Regions from separate parts of the Homo sapiens genome. Here regions 1, 2 and 3 are each linked to region 4. The links are contacts of gene promoters, found by promoter capture Hi-C in blood cells and fetal thymus (Javierre and others, 2016). All regions are on one chromosome and are shown on one strand. The core of a region is centred on a gene start or on the middle of the fragment in contact, and the rest is flanking DNA. Distances in the headings are between cores, read along the strand shown.

Evidence for each region. The method cuts DNA at HindIII sites, captures the fragments that hold promoters and counts their contacts. A CHiCAGO score of 5 or more calls a contact.
Region 1: a fragment that was not itself captured here is called in contact with the fragment with the promoter of KIF26A in region 4 in 1 of 17 cell types (endothelial precursors); the score reaches 6.0 in endothelial precursors.
Region 2: a fragment that was not itself captured here is called in contact with the fragment with the promoter of KIF26A in region 4 in 1 of 17 cell types (endothelial precursors); the score reaches 6.3 in endothelial precursors.
Region 3: a contact is called between a fragment that was not itself captured here and the fragment with the promoter of KIF26A in region 4, in 1 of 17 cell types (endothelial precursors). The highest score is 6.5, in endothelial precursors.

Annotation. Positions count from the first base shown.
Region 1 is chr14:104,337,598-104,344,359 of GRCh38, reverse strand. No RefSeq gene overlaps it. Among named protein-coding and RNA genes, the nearest start is that of LINC02691, 120 kb to the right of the region's middle. RefSeq lists an enhancer at 1,561-2,174. The HindIII fragment of the contact is 3,681 bases long and covers 1-3,163 here.
Region 2 is chr14:104,368,167-104,374,770 of GRCh38, reverse strand. No RefSeq gene overlaps it. Among named protein-coding and RNA genes, the nearest start is that of LINC02691, 150 kb to the right of the region's middle. RefSeq lists an enhancer at 4,164-4,665. The HindIII fragment of the contact is 9,349 bases long and covers 1-6,604 here.
Region 3 is chr14:104,293,711-104,300,446 of GRCh38, reverse strand. No RefSeq gene overlaps it. Among named protein-coding and RNA genes, the nearest start is that of LINC02691, 73 kb to the right of the region's middle. RefSeq lists enhancers at 2,864-3,553, 4,937-5,628, 5,943-6,610, 6,611-6,736. The HindIII fragment of the contact is 5,388 bases long and covers 2,562-6,736 here.
Region 4 is chr14:104,134,973-104,141,379 of GRCh38, reverse strand. It overlaps KIF26A (kinesin family member 26A), which reads right to left and starts at 2,793. Exons shown (of 15, transcript NM_015656.2): 1 at 2,616-2,793; 2 at 2,092-2,337. The coding sequence starts at 2,657. KIF26A-DT (KIF26A divergent transcript) reads left to right here and starts at 2,751. Exons shown (of 3, transcript NR_158217.1): 1 at 2,751-3,850; 2 at 4,138-4,513; 3 at 6,208-6,407. RefSeq lists a silencer at 3,625-3,794 and enhancers at 3,491-4,202, 4,203-4,914, 5,201-5,774, 6,383-6,407. The HindIII fragment of the contact is 14,398 bases long and covers 1-6,407 here.

The DNA.
Region 1 (6,762 bases), core at 74-2,573, 200 kb before region 4:
ATCTGTGGGCAGGAGCTGGAAGGTGCCAGATCTGTGCAGGGGAGAGGAAAAAGGCCTGACTTCAGCCCAGGGTCCTCCAGGGACTCACAGAGGGTGCAGCCTGACAGAGGAGGCCTCTGGGAACTGGAGGGTGAGGGTGACCCTGCCCTGATGTGCCACCTGGAGTCGATGGAGGTGTGGGCAGGCACGGCTGAGCACCACCCTGCAGGACAGTTACTCAGAGGACTATGGGGCTGGCGCCTGCCTCCCCAGGGATGTGAGCCTGGAGCTCCCCAAGTGTCTCCAGCCCCTGTTGTGGCATCTGGCACTGAGCACATGCTCCAGAAGTATGTGTGGAATGTGCGCCTGCTCCTAGGCTGCTCACAGGATCCCTTGTCAGCATGGCCCTGGGTCCAGGGCGCTGGGCTGGGGGTCCCCAGGAGAAGGGGTGTGGCAGAGATGGGAGAAAGCAGAACATCTCACGGGGAAGCAGACCGCATGCATTTGCTGGGCTTCTTCCTTCCCCTCACACCCCCAGCGCCCCCCTCAGCCACCCAACACACTGTCTCTGAGAGGCACAAAGGCTGACCTGCAGCACCAGCTCATACCACAGACAGGGAACCCAGGCTCAGAGAGGGCAGGCCATCACCCGAGGTCACACAGAAAACCCACAGTGGCAGCCCCTTCTCCTCGTCTCTCCTTCAACTCCCTGAGGCTCTTCCAGGCTCTGCTGATTTCTCTGGAAAGTGGGTGTCAGGATGGTGTTAAACTCAGCAGTGGTGGGGGCCAGAATGAGAGGATTCAGGAAGGGGTTAAGCCCTCTGTTCTCTCCCTACATCAGCCGCAGAGCTCTGCACTCAGTGCAAACAACCCAGACCCACAAGGACAGGAGGTGTGGGTGCCGGGACTCCTGGCAGGTTGTCTGGCAATTCGGGCAGTGAGTCCTCGGAGGGACAGAGGGCCTCCAGCTGGAGGGTTGGTCTTGCTGGTCTGGGTGCCAATGACTGCTGTGGCCTTCCCACGCCAGGGACCTCCGGCCTCCCCAGCTTCCACTCACCTCTCCTGGGCCCTGCAGACAGGAGCAGGAGGGGCAGCCGCAGCCCATTGGTGAGTCAATGGGCCTTGCCTGGGCCACTCACCCCAACTCCCCACCTCGTTAGGCAGCCAGTGAGCAGCCAGCCTGTCGGCCCAGCAAATTGGCACAAACAGCCTTATTACCTGACTAATTAGAGCCCAGAGGCCCGGCCAGCGCCCCCTGCCCACCTCCTCTGCAATCAGTCCCAGTGAGTAACTGCTTGAACAAGTGCTTTGAAGGCAAATCTGTGGTGTCCCCCGGAGCCATTTCCCAGGTGTATTTCAAACCGGCCGCCATCCTTCCTCTAGGAGGCCTCACGCCTGCCCTGCCCCTCCTCCCTGGGCCAAGCAAAAGGTCCAAGCCCAGGACCCCATGGGTTTCTTCAAATAGATTCAGCACAGACTGGGTGGACAGCGCCAGGCCCGGTGATCAACTCAGCCAGGGCTCAGATCTGTGACATGGGGGTCACCATGCAGGGCTTCCTTACAGGGCTGGGCAGGTAGGAGCACGCATTTCAGGCACCTGGCACCCAGCACATCGTCAAAGGGGCAGGTGAGGGGACAGCCTACTTAGTGGTCTGAGGAGTTAGAGGGTCAGAGCGTGGAGCTCGGGGAGGCAGGATTGCACGCACCCACACGGAGCTCGGCTTTCTCATCAAGGATGTGAACACAGTGCCTGCTCCCCTCAGCCTCTGCAGCAGCAAGACACAGGAACATTGCCCTGAGCCATCTGGGCCCCTAGGGACCCGGACGGGCCTTTGTAAACTTGACTTTCCCTGACCTGAATTTCAGATCCCCTCGGCTCTGACAGTGTCCAATAAATAACTCCACCCTGCATGAGCGATAGCAAACCCCAGAATGGCTTTAATTTTGCAGGGTGATAAATTAAATGCAATGTCTGCCTCGTGTGCGCGATTAAACTCTTTTTACAGCGTTTTCATGTTGCTTTATGACTGGACCACTGCACCTCTTGAAATTCTTGGCAGAGTCCGCTGCAGTCAGGCAGCTCCTCCAGGCCAGTGCAGGTCACATGGGTGGTGAGTCCCGCCCCTCCCCGCCCCGCCCCGCCCCGCCCCTTACTGGATGCGTCCTTGGGAACCGCAGGTGGTGCCAGCTGGGTCCAGGGCGGTGAACTGGGGCCCGGAGTGCTCCTCCAGCCTGCAGGTGGCGCTGCAGGCGATCTCCATAAGCGCGGAGGGCAATTCACCGGCTCCGGACCTGAGTTCTCCATTTCGGCATTCCACGTTTGGAATTCCATACTTTGCCTCTGACCTTTATTTTCCTCTTCCTTTCTGACCTTCATGTGAATTAGACATTTTTTATTCCTGATTTTTCCTTCTGTACCGGGTTGGAGGTTGTGTGTACTATTCACATTGTCTCAGTAGTTGCTGTGGTCTGAATCCTTGCATCCCCCCAATATTCATATGTTGAAGCCTAACCCCCATGCAATAGTATCAAGAGGTGATGAGGCCTTTGGGAGGTGATTAGTGCCCTTGCAGAAGGGGCTGGAGGGAGCTTGTTTCCGGCTTCTGCGTTATGAGAACACAGGGAGAAGTCATCATCTGTGAGAAACCGGCGCACCAGTCACTGAATTTGCTGACACCTCCATCTTGGACTTCCCAGGCCCTAGAACTGTAAGCAATAAATATCTGCTGTTTATAAATTGCCTGGTCTGAGGTATTTTGATATAGTAGCCTGCATGCACTAAGGCAGTTGTTACTCATAATTTTAATAGGCTTTTTTACAAAGTCAAAAGTTAACCAAAGGGCCAGTCCAGTTTCAGTAAAGCAAAGAAATAAATGCATGAGGAAAGAAAAGAGAAAATGTGATCATGGTCTGCAGATAATATGATTGTTTAAGTAGAAGGGAAAAAAACTAATACTAATTAGAATGAAGATAGTTAGCAAGTTTGCTGGGCACAAAATCAATACCCCAATCCAACTGCATTTCAATACAATCACAATCTATACAAACCGATTTCTATACCAACCATGGTCTTAAAATATAAATTTTAAAATGTCATTTACCCTAGCAATTAAAAATATTGAATACCTAAGAATAAAACCAACAACAGATGTGCAAACACGTTATGGGAAAAATAATGAAAGCTTTATTCAAAGACATTAAAGAAGGTGTAAGTAAAAGGAGAGATGTATCATATATTTTATAAAGAAACATACTATGTACTTCATCACCATGTCAGTTTTCCCCAAATTGACCTAAAGATTTAACACACTTAAACAAAAATCACAAGAGGTTTTTTCATGTAAGAGCAAAGGACTAAGATTAGCCAAGATGCTCTTGAAGAAGAAAGCAAGCTGGGACCTATGCAACACAGCAGGACTTAGCACAGAGCTGAAGTCATTAAACTGTATGGTATGGGTGCAGATATGGACAAAAAGACCAACAGAAGATTACTGAGAACACAGAAAAATATATACTAATGGAAACTTGAAGTATAACTGACAGAATAAACAGTGCAGATCAGTGTAGAAAGGATGTTTTTTGATAAGATGCTGGGAAACTTGCTCTCCATACATTTTTTAAGTAGAGAAAATGAATCCCTACCTCACATCATACTCAGAAATAAATCCCAAATGATCAAAGATTTAAACATGAAAGGCATAACTAAAAAGACTGTTGAAGAGGGAAGGGCTTCTCAAGACACAAAAAGAGCAAAGCGTGAAGGGAAAGCTGTAACAAAAGGCAATTTTATTAAAATTAAGAAATTCAATTCAGCAAAAGAAACCATTTAAAAAGTGAAAACGAAGGCTGAGGACAGTGACTCACACCTATAATCCCAACACTTTGGGAGCCTGAGGTGGGAGGACTGCTTGAACCTGGGGATTCAAGACAAGCTTGGGCAACATAGCAAGACCCCTTCTCTACAAAAAGCAATAACAACAACAAAAAGTGAAAAGACAAGTCACAGGCTACGAGAAAGTATCTGCAACACATCTAACTGACCAACAGAATACAAAAAATATGAAGAGCTTTTACAAATCGATAAGAGAAGGCAAAAATCCCCGTGGGAAGAAATGGACAAAAAATTTGAACTAGCATTTCACAGAAGAGGAAATACACAGATTCATAAACATTTGGAAGTAAGTTCAACCTCTTCAGTAATCAAAGAAATGCCTTTGTTTGTTTGTTTGTTTTTGTTTTGGTTGAGATGGGGTCTATCTGTCATCCAGGCTGGAGTGCAGGGGCACAATCATAGCTCACCACAGCCTCAATCCCCCAGGCTCAAGCAATTGTCCTGCCCCAGCCTCCCAAGAAGCTGGGATTACAGACATGCACTGCCACTCACTGCTAATTTTCAAAAAGTTTTGTAGAGACAGGGTCTCACTATGCTGCCCAGGCTGGTCTTGAACTCTTGAGCTCAAGTGATCCTCCTGCCTTGGCCTCCCAAAGTGCTGGGATTACAAGCTTGAGCCACTGTGCCTACTCAGAAATGCCTTTTGAAAATCCTCTAGGGAATTCTGATTGTGATCATAGACTGAACATATGCATCTCACTTTCTCTCCACACTCCTACTAAAACTATAATGAGAGGTTTTTTAATGACATAAACTCTTAGGGATGAGAAGAACACAACAGGAAGAGGGGAAGTGTACTTTATGACAGACTAAATCATAAACAACTAACAGTAAACAGTAAAACACAACAAAATTTTGGAAGCTGGAAAGCAGATAGACAAGTGCTAACTGCCTTAGCAGACTTGAGAAAGACAACTCCTGAGCCAGCAAGGGAAAAACTGTGAATAAGTCTGATTTGCTCCCAAGAATATTTAAAATCTCAGGAACTGGCAGCAGCAGGTGTCTCTAGGACTGACGATGAAGGGGGAGTGGCAGAGCCAGGACTAGGATGAGGCTAACAAGATGCCAGAGCACAACACTTAAGGAGCAACATCCTTAGCCATTAGAGAAGTGCAAATTCAGACCATGATGAGATACCACTACATACCAGTTGAACACCTAAAATGAATAGTGATAATACCAAATGCTGGGGAGGATGTGGAGAAACTGGAGATCACTCATACATTGCTGGTGAGAATTTAAGGTAGTACAACCACCTGGAAAACAGTCTGGCAATTTCTTATGAAACCAAACGTACTCTTACCCTATGACCCAGCAATTACACTCTTGGTCGTTTACCCTAAAAAATAAAAATTTATATTCACATGCAAAATCTGTACACTGTTGTTCATAGCAGCTTTATTTGTAATAGCCAAAACCTAGAAACAACCAAAATTTCCTGTAATAGGTGCATGGTTGAACAAATTGCTGTACATCTATGCTATGGAGTATTAGCAATAAGAAGGAGCACTGTTGATGCATGCAGTAACTCAGATGGCTCTCAAGGGAATTGTGCTGGGAGGGGGGACAATCTCAAAAGGTCACATGCTTTACAACTTCATTTATACAACATTCTCAAAATGACAAAATTATAGAGATTGAAAAAAGATTAGTGGTTGCTAGTTTTCTCTAGAAAATAGGAGAAAAGTGAAAGGACTATCCAGTATGGTGGTGAGGGAAGATCCAGGCATACAGGGCAACCAGTCTAGATCAGAGCAGATTTTTCAGGACACCAGAATATTGAAGGTTGTCAGGGCTGATGAACCATCTTTTCACATCATTTACCCACAAAATGGTTCATGCCAAACAAGGGAGCAAACCAAGAAAGGAAGACATGAATGAGATCCAGGAAACAGGGACCCCCACCTGGGAGAAAAGCATCAGCAGAGGCAAGTCCCGGGACGAAGTGTGCAGCCAGCCCAGATGAGAGGAGAAAAAGATCTTCAGGCAGAGGGTTTACAGGAATATGTGATGTGGAAAAGTGCACAAAAAGGACATTTGAAGATGTGGGAAGAATTAGTAATAGGTTAGAAAAAAAAAAAGTAAGCAAATCAAAAAGCAAGGCAATGAATAACTTTAGGAAACACAGAAAGTAAAAAAGGAAACATAATTGGAGTATACTATAATGTTAGGCTGAGCTATGAATGTTATATAGACAATGTAAAGGTACAAACTTTACTTAAGCAAAAATTGTAGTATAACTATACTGGAAGAGAAGAAAGGAGAGCACAGGAGCTAGCAGAATGCAAGGGCTAAATTCTCATCACTGTAACAGGAAATTTTAAAAATTATATTCTAAATGAATTAATAAAAAGGCAGCAATATATACACAATATTTAGAAAAATGCAGATGTGTAAATGCCAGAACAAAAAAATTTTAAGTCAATCATGGTTAATTCTAGAGGTGACACTGGCAGGATCAGGGAAGAGAAGATCAGTGAACATACCATTTAGTACTGTGTGAGTTTTGTTGTTTCAGCTATATACATGCTCAATAATAGACAATTGGATTAGATAGGATTGGACTGGATTTAAATTGTATTTATCTATTAAGTCAAAATAAAATAATATGATATCATTTTACTACAACCAAATTTGCACAAATTAAGAAGCAGATCAATTCTAGGTACTGGAAAGGATGAGTGGGCAATAGGATGTCTCAGCCACAGCTGTCAGAGCTACACTTACTTTGGAAAACAGTTTCTCACACCTAGTAGAGGTGACTTGCACATAACTAAAAAGCCAGCAACTCCTCACCGGGTGCCATCTCTAGAGGACCCCAAACCTTTTCCAACTCCTGGCAGAAAACAGCAGTACTTATATGACACAATGGAGTAAATGGGCGAGGCTGC
Region 2 (6,604 bases), core at 3,395-5,894, 230 kb before region 4:
TGAAGCAAGGCCCCAGCTTTTCACTTTGCCCTGGGCTTTGCTCATCACCTGCCCAGGGGCCTCTCCTCCTGGGCCAGGGCTCGATCCTGGCCTGTGCAGCTCCACTCCCCGCACCCAGCAGCACCCAGCCAGCAGGGCCCCTCCGGCCTCCCCATACCCACTTTTCCCTGATGGTGGCCTCACTGTCTGGCGTTGTCCCTCACCTGGCCCCGTCTAGCTCCACCGCCCCTGCAACAGTAGCAAACACTCAGGCTCACGTCAGCTGAGTTCCCTGCCCCCAACGTGAGGCCGAGTCTGCCCCCCCACCTTCGCCCCCGGCATTCCACTCTCCAGGGTGGGCGGCTGCACCCCTCCTCACAGCCTCGCCGATCTGGGTCCGGGGTCCTCCTCTCCCTCGGACTGTCCTCCACCTGACACCCCTCTTCTCTGCCAGCCAATGCCTGGGGTGAGGCAGGCTGAGTCTCCCCCAGGACGCCCTCCTCCTAAACCCTGGAACCTGTGAACCTGGACTTTGCAGATGCAACTAACAGAAGGACCCCGAGGTGGGAGATGGCCCCGGACGACCCAGGTGGGCGCTAAATGTTGTCACAAGGGCCTCAGAAGAGGGAGCAGGAAGGTGAGGGTGGAGACGTGAGGACAGAGGCAGAGTCGGGGGGAGGACGGAGGGGCACTCTGCTGGCCTTGAAGGTGAGGAGGGGGCGGGGGGCACCTCCGGAAGCTGGAGAAGACAAGGAACCGATCCTCCCCTGGAGCCCCCAGAAGGAGCCGCCCTGTGACCCTTGACCTTCACCCGGTGGGATGCGTTTTGGACACCCGTCCCCCAGGGCTGGAAGGCGCCAGCTCTGTGGAGCTGGAGGTGCTGCAGTGGCGGGAGCTTGTTATGGCAGCAACAGGAACCTCCTCCTGGACCACCTCAGCGGTCCTACTGTGGACACCTCGCTCCTCTGCCCTGGGACCCTCTCCAGGGCCCTCCCGTGTCCTGCCCGGGGGCTATCTGTCTGGCTTCCCCTATCGGAGGGCAGCAGAAGACCCCACCCCACCCCTGGGGAGTTGGGACTCAGATTTCAAGTCGAGTCTCTGAGGGTGCAGGGTGTGGAACAGCCCCTGGATGGTACCACAGCCTCCCACCCCACTGCCGTGGCCCTCACCTCGTCCACCCACCAGGCGCCTGATAAGACACCAGAAATGCCCTCCCTGGGGCCTCCCTCCCTCCTTCTCAGCAACCCCCAATCCGTGCAACCCAGGGAGGTGCAGGGGGTCAGGGCCCACGTGCCTTCCCTGCCGGGAGCCGCCGCTTCATCACACGTGGCCCTAACTGACAGCAGCAAAACAAACATTTGCTTTGGTGACCCACGCTGAGTGAGACGCGTGGCATTATTTTAATTAAGCCTTGCGACCAATGAATCTCAATAAAGCAGCTGTTCCAGTATTCAGGTAAATAAATAAAAATCACACCAGGAGGGCTGCTGGGCGCAGAGCTGCCACGCGCATGGGTGTGGAGTGCAGGCAGCTGCCTGGAGGACAGGGGCGCGGTCCAGGCTCACAGCACTTGAGGGCTGACTTGGGAAAAGCCATGTGGAGGAAAGGCTCCTTCCAGATCAGCCCTGATGGGACAGCTACTGCAGATCGTGACACAGACCATGAGGGCTGGCAAGACTCCTCGGACACAGGAGAGGGGCCTGGCCAGGACTCCCTTGGGAAGGAGGATGGGAGAACGCACAGGTGCCGTGTTGGCCCTGGATGGGCCATCTCCCCGTTAGGACGGCTCTCGCTCAGCCCCCAGAGAGCCCACAGGTCTATCACCAGGAACAATTCTCACAGGGAACCCGAGGCCCGTGCCTCTCAGGCCCCAGAAGCTGGAACTGGCCCGGTGCAGTCTGGGGACCAGGGGCTGCCAGCTTTGAACCGTGATGCCACTCCATGCCTGTGCAGAAGAGAAAGTGAAGCTGAAACGCCCAGGCAGCCCCAGGAAACAGGAGGAGGAGGAAGCTCTCCCGTGGGCCTGATGGGGCTCAAAGTCCTACAGTGTTAATGTCACAGTGACGGGGCCTGATTTCCCCCCAAGACTGTTGGGAGTCATGGAAGGAAACACTCAGGGAGGAGCAGGTGCGCAGAGGGCCCGTGGGCAGGGACCTGTGTGGGCAGAGTGCCTGCCTATGTGGTACCAGAAAGGTGTGGAGCCCTGTAGGGTAGTGGCTGAGGACATCCTAGGCAGTGCCTCTCCAAATATGGGTGTTTATGGGTGTGTGTGGGGGCAGCTGGGTGGTGGGGGACCCAGGAGGTCACACTGCAGCCATCCTGCCTCTCACTCTCTCGGTCCAGGCACTCCCCACAACTCCATGACCGCGACTGACCCCAGCCCCCATCCCCCTCCTATCCTTGCCAACAGAACCTGCTTGTGCCTGGGGAGCGTGGGCCTAGCCCAGTAGATGACCTGTGACTGGTCTAAGCCCATCAGGTCAACCTATTCCCTTTGCCATGGATGGGCCCAGGATAGCTATGGGACCTTGCTTGGATGTAGCCTGGGAAGTGCACTGATGGGCTTCTGAGAAAGGCTTTCCTCCTTGATGAAAGATAGACCCATACAAGGAGAAGCCACACCCACCCTTTCTCACTCTCTGCTTCAGAGGCTGTCGTGTGAGGATGGGACGCCTGGAGCAGTGGCAGCCGTCTTGTGACTGTGAGGTCAGGAGCCAGAGAACAAGTAGCCAACATTCAAGGATGACTGAGGGAAAGGAGCCAGGGCCCTGGGTGATGTCATTACCTCCTTCTCAACGCCGGTGCCACCCACCTCCAGGCTCCTTTCATGAATGTATTAGATTCTCGTGGCTGCTGAAAAAAAATTAAACTATCACAAATTTAGTGGTTTAAGACAACAGAACTGTATTCTCACACAGGTCTCGAGGTAGAAGTCTGCAACAGCTTTCATGGGGATGCAATAAGGTGCAGTGGGCCAGGCTCCCTCCAGAGGCCCCGGGCAGTCAGTCCTGGCCTCCCCCAGCCCCCTTGGCACTCAGTGGTCCTTGGCTGTGGCCCTATCACTGCACTCTCCATCTCCGGGACACATCCCCTTCTCTCTTCTGTTCTCTGTCAAATTTTCCTCTGCCTCGTGGTTACATTGAAGACTCACCAGGATAACCCAGGCTGCTCTCCGCATCGCCAGATCCTTGAGAGGCAAAGCCCCCTTTCCACGTGAGATCCATCCACAGGGCCCTGGGGCTAGAACCCGGGGTCCTTGGGAACTCCTTTCCATTCACTCCCATGAGGTAGTTAAGCGCCCACTGTATTTGACCACCGTTGGTCCAGCTTTCTGTTCCTTGAGCCGTGAGGTTCGGATGAGAGAACTCCTCATCTGCAGAGAGGAGATAGCAGGACCTCCACCCTGGAGTGCGGGGAGCAAGCAAGAAGCACGGAGGGGCTCAGCAAACTCAGCACCTGTGAATGAGAGAGCCGCCCTCTACGGCCCCTCTAAGGCGGTTCAGGACGCGCTGTGAGTGTGAACCGCCTGGCAGCGTAAGTGAGTGCCTGGCCTGGCTGCATCTCCAGGGTGCAGCCTCGCAGCCCTCGCTCCCACCCTCAGTCTGGGGTGAGAAGCCCCTTTGAATGCAGCTTGCAGCCCACTTCAGAAGGCGCTGGGACAGGGCTTTCCCCTGCAGGGTCTATTCCCAGGGAAAGTTCCAGGTTTCTCCTGTGCACGCCCCTCCCTCCATCCTGGCTCGGTCCCCAGCATCAGCAGCGGCACCCGGAGCAGCATGGCGGGCTCCATCCATTACCTCCTGCCCGTTAATCGAGCGGATCATGATCTGCAAAATTGGGCGGAAGTTATATTAAGTAGTTTGGCGGTTAAATCTGACACTGTTGATATTTCTCTTCAAAAATAATTAAGAGCCTCCTTCATTGACGAGATCACGTCTTGCAGTCATAATGTGCTTAATATTTTTATCACAAGCCATTTAACTTGAGGCTTTGCTGAAACTCATTGCGACATGCAGAGTTTACTTGAGACTCCCGCGAGCTCAGGTGTTGCTGAAGGACCCGTGCGGTATCCAACGCAGGACAGCGCCTGGGCCCGCCAGGCCACTCCTGACAAAATCCCAAGAGGATGGTTGTTGAAATGCACGGCCACCCTCCCCACACCCCGCGCTGTGGAAAGAGCGTGAAGACGGCAGGTGCTGTCCCACAGCAGCTGAAGGACACTGGCCCAGCTGGGGCCTGGAGGGAGCAGGGCAGAGAGGCTGTCAGCTCCTGGAACCCTCAGCCCCAAAGGTCCCTTCCCTCCCGGGTCCATTTCTCTGCTAAAGATGAGCCGTCCCTCTAGTGGCTGTCCCCTGGCTGCCAGTAGATGGTGCACATTGAAGGTGTGTGTTTGCTGTGGCTGCCGTAGCTCAGAGGCTTGAAACAACAGGCACTTACTCCCCCACAGTCCTGGAGGCTGGAGTCCGAAATCCAGGTGTGCCGGACCCCTCCCTCTGCACGCTCTGGGGGAGGATCCTTCCCCGCCCTCCCAGCTTCAGTGGCCCCGGGCATCCGTGGTGTGTGTCCACGTCCCTCCATCTCTGCCTCCGTCTTCACGTGGCCTCCCCCTGTGTGTCTCTCATGGGGATGCCTGTCCTTGGATTTAGGGCCTGGGTAATCTCATCCCAAGATCCTTACTTACCTTATTAAATCTGCAAACGCTCTCGTTTGAACTAAGACCTCATTGCCTGGTCCTCAGGCTTTGGGTCCATGAACACAGATGTTTGGGGGCTACCATGCCACCCGCTACAGGAAAGGTGCCACAACTATTTAATGAATGGGCAAATGAACCGATAAAGGTGACTGGAGGCCACCTCCTGGCCAGGATGTCGATGGCTTTACGATTGAAGGAGAGAAGGAAAGAGTCTGGTCCCATCACCCATGGGAGATGGGGAAACTGAGGCTCCTTGAAGGGCAGTGGCTTTCCCAGGGTCACCCTGCAGATTTTGGTGGTGGGGATCGGGTTAGGATCACAGCGGGGTGCCCCTCCTGCCCCTTCGAGGGCGGGGCTCTGTCTGGAGGCCCTGCTTAGACGCTGCACTGCCAAGAATCTGGGGAAGGAGCTGAGGGAGACTGGGGGTGGGGTGAGGGGAGGGAGAGATGGAGGAAAGCTCCGTTTGTGATTGACAGTGACCAGTAACTTGCAGGTCCCAGAGAAAAGCCCCTCTCCCCCAATCCCCACATCCAGCCCTCTCCTGAGACCCTGGTGGGGCTGGGCCTGGCTCGGCGGGGCTCCATGCATCTCCACGGATAAATCCACCCGTTCCCTGGAGAAGATTGCACCAGGGGAGTGTGGACTTCTGGGGTACACGGGAAAAGCCATCCTGTGTCCCCACTGCAACAAGCCCCCACTTGCCTGGGGCCACCGTGCAGAGCAGATTCATGCTCCCTTTCAGTGGACCTGCACCCTGCCCCACCTCCACGCAGCATCTTCCTGGCTACAGGGGGAACCTGCTCCTCTGCCGATCCCTCAGACCCCAGTCAGAGACCCCAGATAAGCCATGTCAAGATCCCTGACCACCAGAAACTGGAAATAATCAATGTGTGTTGTTTTCAGATGCTAAGTTTGGGGCAATTTGTGACACAGCAGTTGACAGCTCATTCAGGGCTGAGCGCTGCCTCCCCCTCAGGCAGGCTCCGCCCTGGGGGCAGCAGGTCACTGGGGAGGCTTGAGGGCAGGGGGCCTCACCCTCCAGGTGCCAGCCCTGGGCGAGGCCTGGGCTCAGGAGGGGTCCCATTTCCATTCCTCCAGAGGAGGGGAGCAGATGGAGCTGGGGCGAGACTGCTGTGCCCGGCACACACCGCCACAGACCCTGGGCCACTGCCCCTCCATGCAGCCCCCCACAGCCATTGCCAGGGGCCCTAACTGGGAGGCTCTGTGGGGGTCCCTGCTCTGGTTGACGGTCACGCACTCTGGGACCACAGGAGCCCCCACACCCGCTGCTGGTCGCCTGAACCTCGAGCCTCACAGCCCACCACTGCCCCTCCACATGCAGGACCCCCTCGTCACATGTCAGCATGTCCTGGAGAAGCTGCCACTCGTGGTGGTCTGGCGTCAGAGCCAGGTGCTGGCACATTTCCACACAATGAAATCATTGTGCAAATCAGATCCAGGCCTCACGCAAGAAAAAACAGGAGCCGCTCCTCCGCCTTGTCCCTCCCTGCTGTGAAAGCCCGGCCCCTCCAGGCAGGTGCCCAGGCGGTGGGAGGGGGTCTGCAGGGCCAGAGCTCCATCTTCATGGGCCATCACCACGGGAACCAAAAGTACCCTTTTTGCCCACAGCTGATTTGCTGGCAGGCGGGCAGGCGGCGGATGGGCCTGGAGAGCCCAGGAGACCCTGGGACCACTTCACAGGACAAGAGCATGGGTGGGGCCCCCCAGCACCACCACCTCTCACCTGGGTGCCGCAGAGGCTGGTGTCTGACGAGAGTACCACCACGGAGGGGCTGGGCACAGGTCTCAGCAGCCAGCCCAGGGCCATGCACTCCTGGAAAAAAGTGGCCCCCCAGGAAGGGAGTGCATTCTCGCCAGGTACAGCTGCTGCCCTGACCCCATTTGTCCTTGGGCGGAAGGCTGAGTGGCCGAGGG
Region 3 (6,736 bases), core at 4,006-6,505, 160 kb before region 4:
GGAGATGACATCATTCACAGCTAATTGTCTTGTTTGTCCGCTGGCTCCGTGGTTGTTTTAATAAAGGGCAGAGGCGGATAAAGGCTACATTTGCATCCTGGAAGGGGAGGCTGACAAGGGTCTCCTGCTCATGACATTTATTGTTTGCAAATGAGATAACCCAATAACAGCAGAGCCAGCTCCCTGCCGAAGCAGAGAACCCACCCTGCCCTCCTCCACCGGGGCCAGCCAGGAGCTGGGACAGACCAGGCCACGCGAGGGTAGCGCTCTCCGCCCACGGCCACCTGGGGTGATGCGTCTCAGTCCCTCTCCTGCAACACCTGCCTGTGGAGTGGCCCCACAGTAGGATGCAAGCAATGCCTGTTGAGTCCAGCCACCCGCAGGCTGGAACCAGCATCCCCGTTTGCCCAGGAGAAAGCCGGGGTTCAGAGAGATCACATTGCCTGCCAGTGCCACACAGCTGAAAGCAAACAGAGCAGCTCAGCACGCTCAGACTTTTTGCTTCACTGTTTGGCAAAACAGATCTCCATGCCTATGGTACCCAAATAAAGTCACAGCATTTTTTATTAAAATTATTATCACTGTAGAATCCTCACCCACCCTGTTTCTAGCTGCCTCTGGGGACCCAGTTCCAGTTGTCAGAACTTCTAAGGAAATTTTTAAGAAATTCCTCGAGCTGCACAGACTCTACTTTCCAGAACCAAACTAGGGATCTGGCAAAGGATAATCGTTTAGTCTTCAAATTTCATATGCAAGGACTTTCAAAACATTTGTATTAAATTGGGTTTAATAACACATTTCATAGGTGGCTTTTTTTGAAAAAAAATATTGTTTTATTGTTACCTGGCTAGGGCCAGGGGCTTCCTCTGAGTTGCCACAGCCTGCCCCATCCCCACCCCAGAACTTCCCTCTGTGACCACCCTGGACGCTATGTACAGAGAACTGTCACTCAGTCTGAGTACAGGAATGCAGCGGGATCAAAGTAAATGTTGGATGGATGGAATGGGTGGGTGGGTGGATGGAATGGGTGGGTGGATGGATGGATGGATGGATGGATGGATGGATGGATGGAAAGGTAGATGGGTAGATGGATGGATGGATGGATGGATGGATGGATGGATGGATGGGTGGGTGGTTGGATGGATGGATGGATGGATGGATGGATGGATGGAAAGGTAGATGGATGGTTGGATGGATGGATGGATGGATGGATGGATGGATGGATGGATGGATGGATGGTTGGATGGATGGATGGATGGATGGATGGATGGATGGATGGATGGAAAGGTAGATGGATGGTTGGATGGATGGATGGATGGATGGAAGATGGATGGTTGGATGGATGGATGGATGGATGGATGGATGGATATTTAGGTAGATGGATGGGTGGATGGAATGGATGGATGGATGGATGGATGGATGGATGGATGGATGGATGGATGGATGGATGGAAAGGTAGATGGATGGTTGGATGGATGGATGGATGGATGGATGGATGGGTGGGTGGGTGGATGGATGGATGGATGCATGGATGGATGGAAAGGTAGATGGATGGTTGGATGGATGGATGGATGGATGGATGGATGGATGGATGGATGGATGGGTAGGTGGGCAGATGGGTAAATGGATAGATAAATGGGTATACAGATGGGTGGGTAGATGGAAGCATGGGTAGGTGGGTGTAAGATTGGATGGATGGATTGGTGGATGGACAGATGAAGTACCGCTCTCAGTACTGCCTTCTGTGTCAGGTAGGGGCCGCTCTGAGCAGACGGTGGCTGCCAACCACCATGAAGTATGACCTTCCTTGCTCCCATGCAGCCCACAGAGGGTGGGCAAGCCTGCCTGGCTGGTTCACACCTTGCCACCCCAAGCCCATGGCAAGGAAGTAGGTGCCATGGTGACAGACTCAGGGCAACACTGGGGCACAGTGGATGCTGGGGTCAACCCCAATGCCAGCTACAATGGCTGTGCTTGTAGGGCCATTCTGATTAACCCAGATGTTCCAACATCTCCAACTTGCAGGCCACACTGTCCTTCAGTCACCAGGTTGACCTCTGTGCCACCTGGTTGTCCAGGTGTTAGGAGGCTCATTCTGGTGGAACGAGCATCTTGAGCCCCTCCTATGCCTCCAGTCCCTGCCAGACCACCTGGGAAGGCCCGGGAGCTGCTGCAGTTCCCACAAGCCCAGGCTGCCCAGGTTGCAGCCCCTGCAGCCCCCCGTGGTCCACACAGACCTCTTGCGTGCAAATCACACCCTGGGGTACTCACAGGACATGCTCGCTCCCAGAAGACCCAAAAGCTCAACCAGGTCCAGGCCGTGGGTGGTTAAAGCACTCAGCAGAAGTTCCTCAAAGCTCAGAGGCACCAGCAGAGGTGAAAGCAGATGCAGGGGCAGGTGGAGGAAGGTAGCCAGGGCATCTCGCCTCCTGGGGCTGCGGCCCTGCCTGCTCCCCCATCCCAGGCCTCCGGGCCCCTAAAGTCTGGGGAGCCTGGATTCAGGGAAGGACCCATCACCCCACAAGGGTCAGGCCGGGGGCAGGATGTTCCAAGCAGAAGCTTCACCCAGCCCTGTGGGGTGGCAGGAGGGAGCCCACTGAGCACAGGCAGGTCAGAGGCTGCTGCCGAAGAGCTAAGCCAGGACCATCTCTGGTCCCCAGGAGCCACCACTCAGCCTCACCCACTGTGAGGACTGGAATATTCACCCATCATAGGGCTGTCCACATGGCGAGACTCCACTCACATCCACCAGAGCCTCCCTGGCCCCCTCTCCTCCTCCTAGAGGCTCCCCAAGGCCCGAAATTACAACGAGAAAGTTTTTCCTTGGACTCTTCAAGGCAGACAGGACCTGGCATCTCCTGTGCATGTCTGTGGCCTGAGCAAGAGGGGACGTGGGACTGCGTGGGGGCTGTGACAGTTCAGCTTGCCCACCCGGCAGATGGGTCCTCTTCTCCTGTGGCCACTGAAGGCAAAGCAGGGGTGGGGGTAGGGGAGGGGGTCCCAGCCCCGTGAGGCTGAAAGTCAAGGTGGGATCACAGAGAAAGTCCAGGGACAAGATCAAGCCCTTCTGAAAAATGCATCTAGCAAGCCCCTGCCCGGCTGTGCCTCAGTTTCCAGTTTCTCTTTGGCCCTCTCCAACTGGGTGGACAAGTCTGGTGACTCCTTCCTGCATGCCAGCACCTGTCACGGCCCCTGCGGCCCTGGCTGAGGCCCCTGCTGGGTGGCCTGGGTGGACCAGCCCTGGACATGCAGCAGCTGGCTCTCGCTGCTCCCCGCCCTGCCACCTGGGTCCCTGCACCTGCCTCGAAGCATCCAGTTCTGGAGCTTTTGTCCTGGGCCTGGGAAATGGGCATTTTCTGCCCATAGGCACAAAGGAGAAACTGCAGGCAGGCACGCTTCTGGAAAGTTCCAGGGCTAAGGAGATGCCGAGTCGTTCTTCCTCACCCAGGGGTCAGGTCCTCACCACAGCCCCCACCCAGTGGCTGCCCCCGCCTCTGGCCAGGAGCCCTGCCCGCCAAGCCAAGCAAGAGGCGGGACGCGGTGACGCGATGTCTCCACTGAAAGGGTCCCGCTTCCCCTCAGAGAAGGGGCCGCACATTAATTCACTCAAGGCCGGGGATTAGTCATCGGGCAAATAAGATTAAATGCCCTTGAAATGGAATTAAAATGACGTCAAACAGCAGAATATCATTTTCCTAACAGCCCTGCAAGATGCTTCCTGCTTTAACCCCTTCCTGGCCCCATCTCAACCCCCAAGAGTGAGCTCCAAGCTCGGGAGAGGTGGCACCCACGTCTCTCTGTGCTCCTGAACCTGGCTCAGGGGCCATCGAGGAATCAACACTGAGGCTACTCCTGCCAACACCCTCCCAGGGCCTTCTGAGTCCTTCAAATATCAGATGGACCTTCAGGCCCCAGGCTACAGCTGGTAGAACTTGAGCCCCAGGCCCTGCACAGGGCGAGGGGACCTCAGCCCAGCCTAGGGCCCCGGGAATAGGGGGCCTGGGCCAGGAAGGAAGCCAGGAAGCTGAGGAGGTTCCTGGTCTCTCCCTGGCACCTCCGTGCCTTCCTTCACTCGGTTCTTTCTCCTCGTTAGCACAGCCCTGCCTGCCCTCCTGGGGAACCAGCAGGCCCTCAGCTCCTTGTTCACCACCTGCAGCTCAGGGGCCCGAGGATTCGTCTCCACTTGCAGGAATCCTCTTTTCATCTTAGAAGAGAAGAGAGGAATGATAAGGCTGGGCCCAGAGTCCCAGGGAGGACTAGGCAGGCGGGCACCAGGGCTGGGAACAGCCCCTCTCCCATGGGGCTGTCCACACAAAGCCCTCATTTCCCCAGGCCCATCTGGGGTCTGGAACCCCCTTAGAAGCCAGAAAGAGTGAACCCCACCTGGCCCACCTCAGCAGCGCAACCCAGCCAGGGAAAGGGGCAGGAACGTCTGTGCCTCCTGTGCCCCTGCCCGGGTCCCCACGCCAGGACAGCGTCTTTGCAGACATTCATGGTGACCTGCCTAGTCGGGGAACATGCCTCTCTGTAGGAGGCCCTGGCTATTAGCACCACCGAGACGACCTGCAAAGTCGCTGGAAATCTTCCTCAATCATCAGCCTTAAGCCCTGATCATCATTTCTCATTTTCACTGAAACAATCACCTGTCGGAGAGGGTGGGCTGTGAGCTGCCCATTCGTCACGCAGGGCTGCCCTGGCCAAGTGCACGCGCCGCCCGGCCAGGCTCAGGCGTGGATCAATAGGCCACGTTCAGGCCGTCAATAGCTGTAAATACATTTGCGGGATCAGTCAGGACAGCCTCCTGCCCGGCCACCATCCAGGGAGCTGCTGGGCGCAGAGTACGAGTGGGGCAAGCGGTGTGCACCCTTTACCGTCCCTGGGGTCCAGCCTGTCTGGGGCTGCGTCTGTCCCAGCTCTCCCTGCCAGTGCTTCCACTTGGGCCGTCATCCTTGCTGTGCTGAGCCTGGCTCTGCCCGGCTCTGGGACTCCAGAAATGAGCCGTGATAACAGAGGCCTGGGAAGGGCCCCTCTGTGTCCTCCTCCTTGCCTTCCGCAACCCTCAGCAACAGGCCTCGGCTCCTCCTCTCTTCTCGTGGGGTGGCCTCCCATGGCAGCCAGTCCGGCTCTGGGGACGGTGAGTTCTCTCGATTCCGAGTGGAGATAAGCCCAACCCAGCATCCTCTCAGGCTGGGGGCAGCTCTCTCCACACCTGCACCGTGCCCAGGAAGTTGGCACTGATGCCCTCTAAACATTTCTCCCGGCCTGGCACCCTGTCTCCCTCCGGCCACCGCCCAGCAGAGGGCCCCCACTAACCAGGGCCACTGTCACTCAGAGTCCAGCTCAGGAACTGGGCATTTTCCCCCCACCCATCCCCACCACAGGGCAGGGCAGGGAGGTGGGGAGTCACCTCCTTCAGCCCGGACTCCGCATTCCGGTCGGGGACAATCCTTAGTGCCAATGAGGTCCCTGGTGTCTGTCACCCACTGCTGCTGTACTCTCCTCTCCAGAGACTCAGAATCAACAGGCCGTGGAAAGAGAGATTTATTGCAGTGAATTAGCTCATACAATGATGGAGGCTGAGTCCGCAGACCTGCACCGAGTCAGTAAGCTGGAGCCCTGGGAGAGCTGATGGTGGCAAATCAGGCCGGACACCAGCAGACTCGACACCTGGGTGGAGCTGATGTTCCAGCTCAAATCTGAAAGCAGGAAAGCAGCCGCCCTCCCGGCTGCAAGGCAACCAGTTTCCTCGTCATGCCTTCATCTGATTGAGCGAGGCCCACCCGCATGGGGGAGGGACATCTGCTGTGCTCAGTCTACGGATTCCAGCCTGAATCTCATCCAGAAACACCTGCACGGACACACCCCAAATCGGAGTCCACCAAATGTCTGCAGTCGCGTGGACACATAAAATTAACCCTCACAATACCTCTCCCTCTGCCCCAAACACGCAGCTGCTTCACCCACCTTCACCTGTTCCCCCGCAATTAGCCTGTGTCCCCCAGTGCCATCCATTCTGGGCACCCTGGTCAGAAGGCCCCATCGGCTCTGCCCCTTGGGGGTCCTCAGGATTTTGACTGAGCCCCCAGGGTTGGTGGCTTACGTGCCTACCTGCATTTTCCACCAGCAGGAGGAGCAGGCTCATTGCAGCTGCATTGGAGGACGAGGGCTGAGTCTAGCCTCCTCCTTGGGACTGCAGCCTCCAAGGCAGGCTCTTCACAGGAGGGTCACCAGAGCCCTCAGCTGGGAGCTGGCACATGGCCACTTCCGGCTAAATCGAGCCCGGTGGCCAAGCCTGCCATCAATGGGGACAGTGGATGAGGAAATAGTGTTTGCTGAGCGACAATCTTCTCTCTCACAGCCGCCAGCCTCAGGACAGGGAGCACGGGAGGGAGGCAGAGGGCAGCCCTCTTGTCCTTTCTCACCCCGGGATGCAGATGACAATGACCACACTCTGGTGACCAACCAGGCTGCCCCAGCCCCTCCCAGACACTCACCCGGGCCAGGCAGCAGGAGGAAGCTCCCTGGTGCTCTCAGCTCCCAGAACAGAGGATGCCTTTGCTTTGGGAGGATGGGGTGATCCTAACCACTGCTCCGTCCTGCCTTGGAGGAGGAGGCCTGAGGGTAGGGCCCAGCTACCAACCAGGCTGCTGCTGTGGACAGCCTCCATCCTGCCCAGGGCCCCTTCCTGGCAGCCCCCTCCCTCCGTTGCTCTCTGCACTCACCTCTGCCTGGCCTT
Region 4 (6,407 bases), core at 1,544-4,043:
AACAGCTATCCTCAAGGAAGCTCATCTCTCCCCTAAAAAATACGAAACGGGCCCCTGGGGAAATCCTAGAACACCAACCCTAAATACCCCTTGCCACGTTGGCCTTACAGAGCAGAGGCCAGGGCCCACTGGACAGTGCACCAGACTCCGGGGAGCACACTGGGGTCTCCCTGGCCACCCCAGAGATTTCCCTCCCAACCCAAACACAGAAGCAGCCATGTCCACACATCTGGGCCCAGCGGGCCAGGCCAGGGCTGCAGGCTGCAATTTTGCTGGGACTCTGGGGACAGCCCAGGCCCGCACAGGGGACAGGACAATGACACCCGTAAGGCCCCAGGATGGCAGGTGCAGCCCCCCATGCCCTGTGGAGAGACAGTGGAGGATGGGGTCTTCTCTCCCGGGGGCACAGCACCCTGCAGGTGGGACAGCACTTCACAACAGGCCCCAGGTGACAGAGGAGACCACAAAGCAGAAGAAGGGGGCCCAGAGCAGAACAAAGCCCTGGCTGAGACCAGCCCGGGACCCCGGTGTGCTGAGTGCCAGCGCCAGCTAGGGAAGGGGGAGCCCCCAGCTGGCACTCAAGAGGAGTTTCCAGTGTCAAAGGCCAAGCTCAGGGGAGGCTGGAGATGGGTGGTCTGGGGCTCCCCTGAAGACCTGTCTGCCAGAAGAGACCAAGACACCCCCCTAGATGAGGAACCTAGAATCCACCAGGGACTAGTATCACCTGCAGCCCTCTCCACTAGGACCCCTGGCCTGCCCGTGACCAGGAGCCCCCTCCCCTCCACGAGTCCATGCCAGGACCATGGCCCCAGGGCCAGGCAGCATCAGCAGTCCAAGCCCACTCCAAGAATGAGGAGACCAGCTCAATCTTAATGCCCCTCCTGTCTCTGGCGTGTTTCCCCTAATGGGGCAGCAAGATGGGCCTTTAGCTCTGGCTGGCCCTCTCCAGGGGGCCCTCAAGGGTCTCCTGCTACCTTTTAAACTAGATACAGGCCACTGGGGCACAGAGTATGGCCAAGGCTGCAGCCTGTCCAGAGCAGAGGACAGGGCGGGTCCAGCCCCACCCCAGGACAGGCCCACAGGCGCCTGGCCTGAGCCAGAGAGAGGCTACAGCAATCCTATCCCTCGCCGAGACTCCAGAGAGCCCGGAGACGGTGCCCAGGACAGAAACCAGACTGGTACCCTGCCCCACCCTGCCCTGCCCCAGACAGGGCAGTCAGGGTCTCAGCTCACTCCAACCCCCACAGCCCTTAGAGAACTATATTTAGATTCAATGGGGATTATGCGGACTTCCCAGGAACTCTTTCATAAAGGCTGAAGGCCCGGCAGCGGGCTTCCTCTGGAGACCCCCACCCGCCCCCAGCCTTTGCAAACTTCCAGCATGCATTGTTCCTGGAACAATGGTCCCTGCTCCCTCCAAAGCCGGCAGGCCCACTGGCTGGAAATCCAGGAGAACCCCTCCCCTGCAAGCACCTGCCCCTGGGGCTGGAGCCTGGGGAACCCAGAGGGCCCCGACTCAATTCCCCATGGGCGGCCACTGCCTCAGTCTATCCCAGGAGGTATGGGACAACAGTTCTTATCCTTGAGGCTGGGAGAGGAGTAGGCAGGGACCCCCCAGCTGCTGTGGCCCACCCTTTCACCTGCCAGGCCCCCCGGCCCCAGGTATGTAATTTCCAGACACCTGGCTGGGGGCCCAGGTGCCCCAAGGGCCACAATGCACCAAATAACCTCTCCCTGCTGGTAGGGCTGGAGCTGTCCCGCCCTGGGTGGAGTCCCTGCCATCCGCTCTCTCCCCTCCTCCTCCCACACAAACCTGCGTTCCAGCTGTGGGACATCTGGGCTGGGGGAGGAACGCCAGCCCAGGCCCCTCCCATCCGAGGCAGCAGGGCCCCTCGGGCTGAGCTCCCTAGCTCACACATGGTGTTACAGACCGGGAAACTGAGGCCCGCAGAAGGGAAGTCCTGGCTGATAACTCTTTGTGGAAACAGCAGCAGGGAAGGAGTGGAACCCTGCTTCCCTCCAAGCCCCAAGTTCTACCCAAGTTCGGCGTGGCCCTGCTCGGAGGGGTCGGCCTAAGGAAGTGTCACTTACCCGGAGGGTGGTCCCGGGCCCGCTGACCAGCTTCCACGCCTGTCGCTTGAGCTCCACCAGCTTCGTGTGGCAGTGGCGGCACCAGCCGCCTCCGCCGGCCGAGTGGCCCTGCTCTGGGCCGGCCCCGGCGCCTTCGGGAGCAGGGCGGCTGCCGCATGGGTCCTGGTCGGGCCCGGCGGGTAGCCTCTTTCGGGGGGACACCTCCAGCAGCGGCGGCGGCTCGCGGGCCGGGCCGCCCTCGGCCACCTGCAGGGTGTGGGGGCGGAAGCGGACAGTGAGCCTGGGACGTCCGTCGGATCCAGACCCCTGCGCGCCCTGCCCCAGCGTGACGCTCTTGCCAAAGTTAGGAGCCCTGGGCACGACCCTGGCGCTCACCCACTCCCTCCATCCCCGGAGGTCCCGCCTGCGGGTCCGCTACCCTCAGCAGGAGGCCCGGCCCCCAGGGATCCAGCGCACACCGCGAGTATCTTCGCCGTCCCGGGCCCCCGCCGCCCGCCTCCCTCTCCAGGCCGGGCCGCGCGTACCGCGGGCTGCGCAGCGCACAGAGGGACGCCGCGGCCGACCATGGCCGGGGCGCGGGAAGAGCCCGGCAGGCGCTCCCGGCCACGCTGGCTCTCCGGGGGCGCCGCGGCTACGTGATCCGGCCCCGAGGCGCCCCCATGGCCCGGCCCAGCCGCTCGGAAGTTCGCAGAGCCTGCGAGTGTCGCGAGGAGCGCGGTGGCTCCGGTGGGCGCGCTCGGGAGGCGAGGGCGGGGCCGGGGAAGGGCGGGGCTCGGGCTCCCGGGGCGGGCGGCGAGGGGCGGGAGCCCAGAGAGTGCCCCGCCCTTGCCCAGTGCTGGGCGGCGCGTGGGGGGGGTAGGGTCCCCGCTTCCCCACGCGGCCCCGCGCACTCCAAGGACCCCAACCTGTTAGGTGAGTCCCTGCCCCGGGGAGGGGCGCTGGGGGCGGCGGCGAGGATCTAGTTGCGCGCGCGCATGCGCCTCCCGCCCCTCTCCCGGGACACCAGGGCTGCGCGTCTCCCAGGAGGCGCCGACGCCCCTCCCTCTACAGGCGGGAAAACTGAGGCTGCGGAGGGGACGCTCTTGCCCAAGGCCCACGGCGAGGTGGGCCGAGGAAGGGGCGGGACCCCGGCCCCGAGACTCCCAGGCGCCTTTCCAGCAAGCCCAGCGTACTCTGCGTGTCGCGGGCCACTTTAGGTCTAACTGTCGCGCGTGGGTTAGTGTCGCCGCGGTGTGCGCCTCGAGCCGGGCAGCGACCGCGCCGGCGTATCTGTGCCTCGGCGCGTCTGCGAACGGCACGTGTCTTTACAGCCGCGCGTGTGCCCGCAAGTGGGTGTGCGCGCCGTGCCGCCCGGGAAGCGGGAGGTCCTGCGGGCGTGCGCCGGACCTGTTGTCAGCAGGCCTGGCAGATGGGAACTCAGCTCCGGAATTAATTGCTTGTTTGTCTCCGGCTGGGAGGCCGCCCCCCCGCCCTTCCCTGGCGACCAGTTGCTCTGTGCCTAGCCGGGCCCCAAATGTCGCCGGCATCCGCGGCCGCAGGCAGCTCCGGGCCAGGCTCCGGGTCAGCCCCAAAGCCCGGGTCAAGCCAGGCGGGCGCGGCGGGCGGGCTCCCCGTGACGCGAGTGCCCCCTGCCGGCCGCTGCGCACACGGCTCCGAGACTGGGGAGACAGCGCCGCGCGTCCCAGGCCTGAGGCGCACTCGGAAACTCCGAAGGTCGTGACCCGGCGGAGACCAGGACACGCGGCTGCCGGCACATACGGTGAGGCCTTCGCAGAGACTCAGTACGTCAAAGTGACCCTTTCCGTTTTGCCCACCCCCTTTTACTTGGATAAGCCTCCCCGCCCACGCACGCACTCCCCAGAAAGTGGGGTGGGTGATCCCCTCCCGGCTTTCCGGGTCGTTGATGACCTTAGGGGTTCGAAAACGCAAGGGGGTATGGAATAAAGTGGCAGGGGCTCTCCACTCTTTCTGAGATCCGTAAGCCTGCAGTCGCTTTCCACCCAGCCTGGGGGGCCGGAAGCGCTTCCCCTACCCGTCTCTTCGCAGCCTGGAGAATGAAAACGGGCGTCAGCCCACATCTGGATCTGGGTACTGAGGACAACACCCAAACCCCACCCCGCACTGCCGGCAGACAGCACCGCCTCCCGCCGCTCCACTGCTCCGGGACACACACTCTCTATATCCCGTCCCCCCACCCACACACGCAACACAGAAGCACGCAGCGGTCGGGAGCACCGGTCCTGCGCCCCTGGCCAGCCACACCCGCAACTTCAGCGCTTCTACCGCCGCGGCGCTTCGGGAAGCACAAGCTCACATCCCATATCCGCAGAACACGGGGTGCACAAGGCTGGAGTCACCTCGGGGGCTCACGATCAGTCAGGGGCCCCGACCCCCTACTTCGCCCATCCTAGCAAGGCGCAAGGTGAGCCCGAGAATCCCTGCGCTGCGCTCTCCGCCCTAGCCACAGCCTCCGGGTGGGTCCGGTTGGGACACAGCCTTGAAGGCAGAGGGAGACTTGGACAACGCTAATGGGGGAAAGTGCGGCAGCGAGTCCCAGCCCGGGCTGCGGGACGCGGCTCCGGACCTGCCGTCTCCTTCCCGGCGCAGCACCCCCGGCCGCGCGAGCCGCGCGGCAAAGTAACGGGACGGCGCCTACGCCGCCCGCCCCCCTCCCGACAGCCCTCACCTTGCCTCGTCGCCGCAGGAGGTGGCTGGTGAAGCCCAGGATGATCTCCGAGTCCAGGCAGAGCGCCCCCATCTCCAGCAGGCTGGGAGCCTTGCGGGGCGCGCCGCGGGGCGGCTCGGGCGGCTGGGGCAGCGCCATGGAAGAGGGAAGCGCGGGGAGCGGCCCCTAGTGCCTCCCGCCACCGCCGCCCCGCCCGCGCGTTCACTGGCCGCGCGCCCGCCGCCGCCGCGCCCCGCACCGCGCAGGGCCGCCCGTCAAGCCCCCGGTCCTCCGCGCCCCGCGCCCCCGAGCCCTGCGCTCGCTCCGCGCCGCGCGCCCCCGCGCTCCGGCCCCGCCCGCCTGCGCCGACAGCGCCCCTTCCGCCCCGGCGGCGAGCCAGACACCAGCCACGCGGACTGGAGGTGTGGGGCGACGGCCCCGCGCGCCACTGGGCGGAGGTTGGAAGCCAGAATCGGGTCGCGGTCCGCGCCCACCTGCCTCGCTAGCCCCCAGACGTCGGTGTCTACTGCCGGGTATCCGGCAGGGAGAGGGCAGCGCGGCTGCTGTAAAACCCTTCCGACTGGGGCATAATCGCAGCCCCTTCCCCCTCCAATCTGTCCTGAGGACACGGCGCGTTGGGGTCCTGGCCCATGGAAACGCTCAGAGCCCAGTGACCTGTGCACTCCACCCCGCCCACGCTCCAGAGCCCCCGTTCAACCTTGGCCTATGGACCTCCAAGGCCCACCCCAACCGGACCACGGAGCGTGCGCAGCGGGACCCGCAGTCTGCGCCTCCACTCCAGGATCCCGATTGTGCCGCCACCCGTGGCCTTCCCTGCCCCGACCCCGACTCCCTGAGGGCTGGAAGATTCGGGCTGGCTGCCGGGCACGACGACTTTACTTTCAGGGTCCGAAGCTAGGGGCGGGGGTGGGCGCTCTGCCTGGGTGCAAACTCAAGCCCGGGTCCCGCGCTCCTCCTGTGGGCTGCCCCAGCCTCGCGCGCAAGTGGGTGAGATGCCTGGCTTGAGGGAGGAAGGGAGAGGATCAAGCAGGCAGAGAGGTTCGCCTAAATGCGCTAGGCCCACGCGGAAGGTCTTTGGGAGTTAAGGAAGTGTCAGGGACCCTGCCCAGGGGATATTAGGCGCCTTGAGCAGGACCTGGAAGGTGGACAGGCGAGGGAAGGAGAACGTTTTCAGCGGCGCCAGCGCGCACCTATGGCCTGGCTGGGGTGCTAAGGCTGGGCTAGACTTTCTGTGCTCTCTGCCCCCTGCACTCCTCTACTCTCCCCTGGGAAGGACCATGGCCACGCCCCACAACCCCACTGCTCCGGCGGCGCCGCAAGGCCGTCCTGCTCCCCCGGTCCTTCCCCTGACTCCCCCCAGTGGAGGCTGAAGGACGTTGTCTCAACCTGACTCCAACCCAGAGCCCAGCACTGCCATTTGTCTCCAACAGAATCACCATAAACGCTGGATTTGCTGACCACATGGCCGATCGTGACCACCTGCTCTGTACTCACCCAGGCTTCTGGTCAGGAGAGAGGCGGGGAAGAGCTGCCCCCTCCCTGCGTCCACCATCACTCCTGGCCTGGGATCAGGGCAAGTTATAAAGGGGGCCAGAGTCCCCCCTTTCTCTCTGTCCCTCTCCAGGAGGAC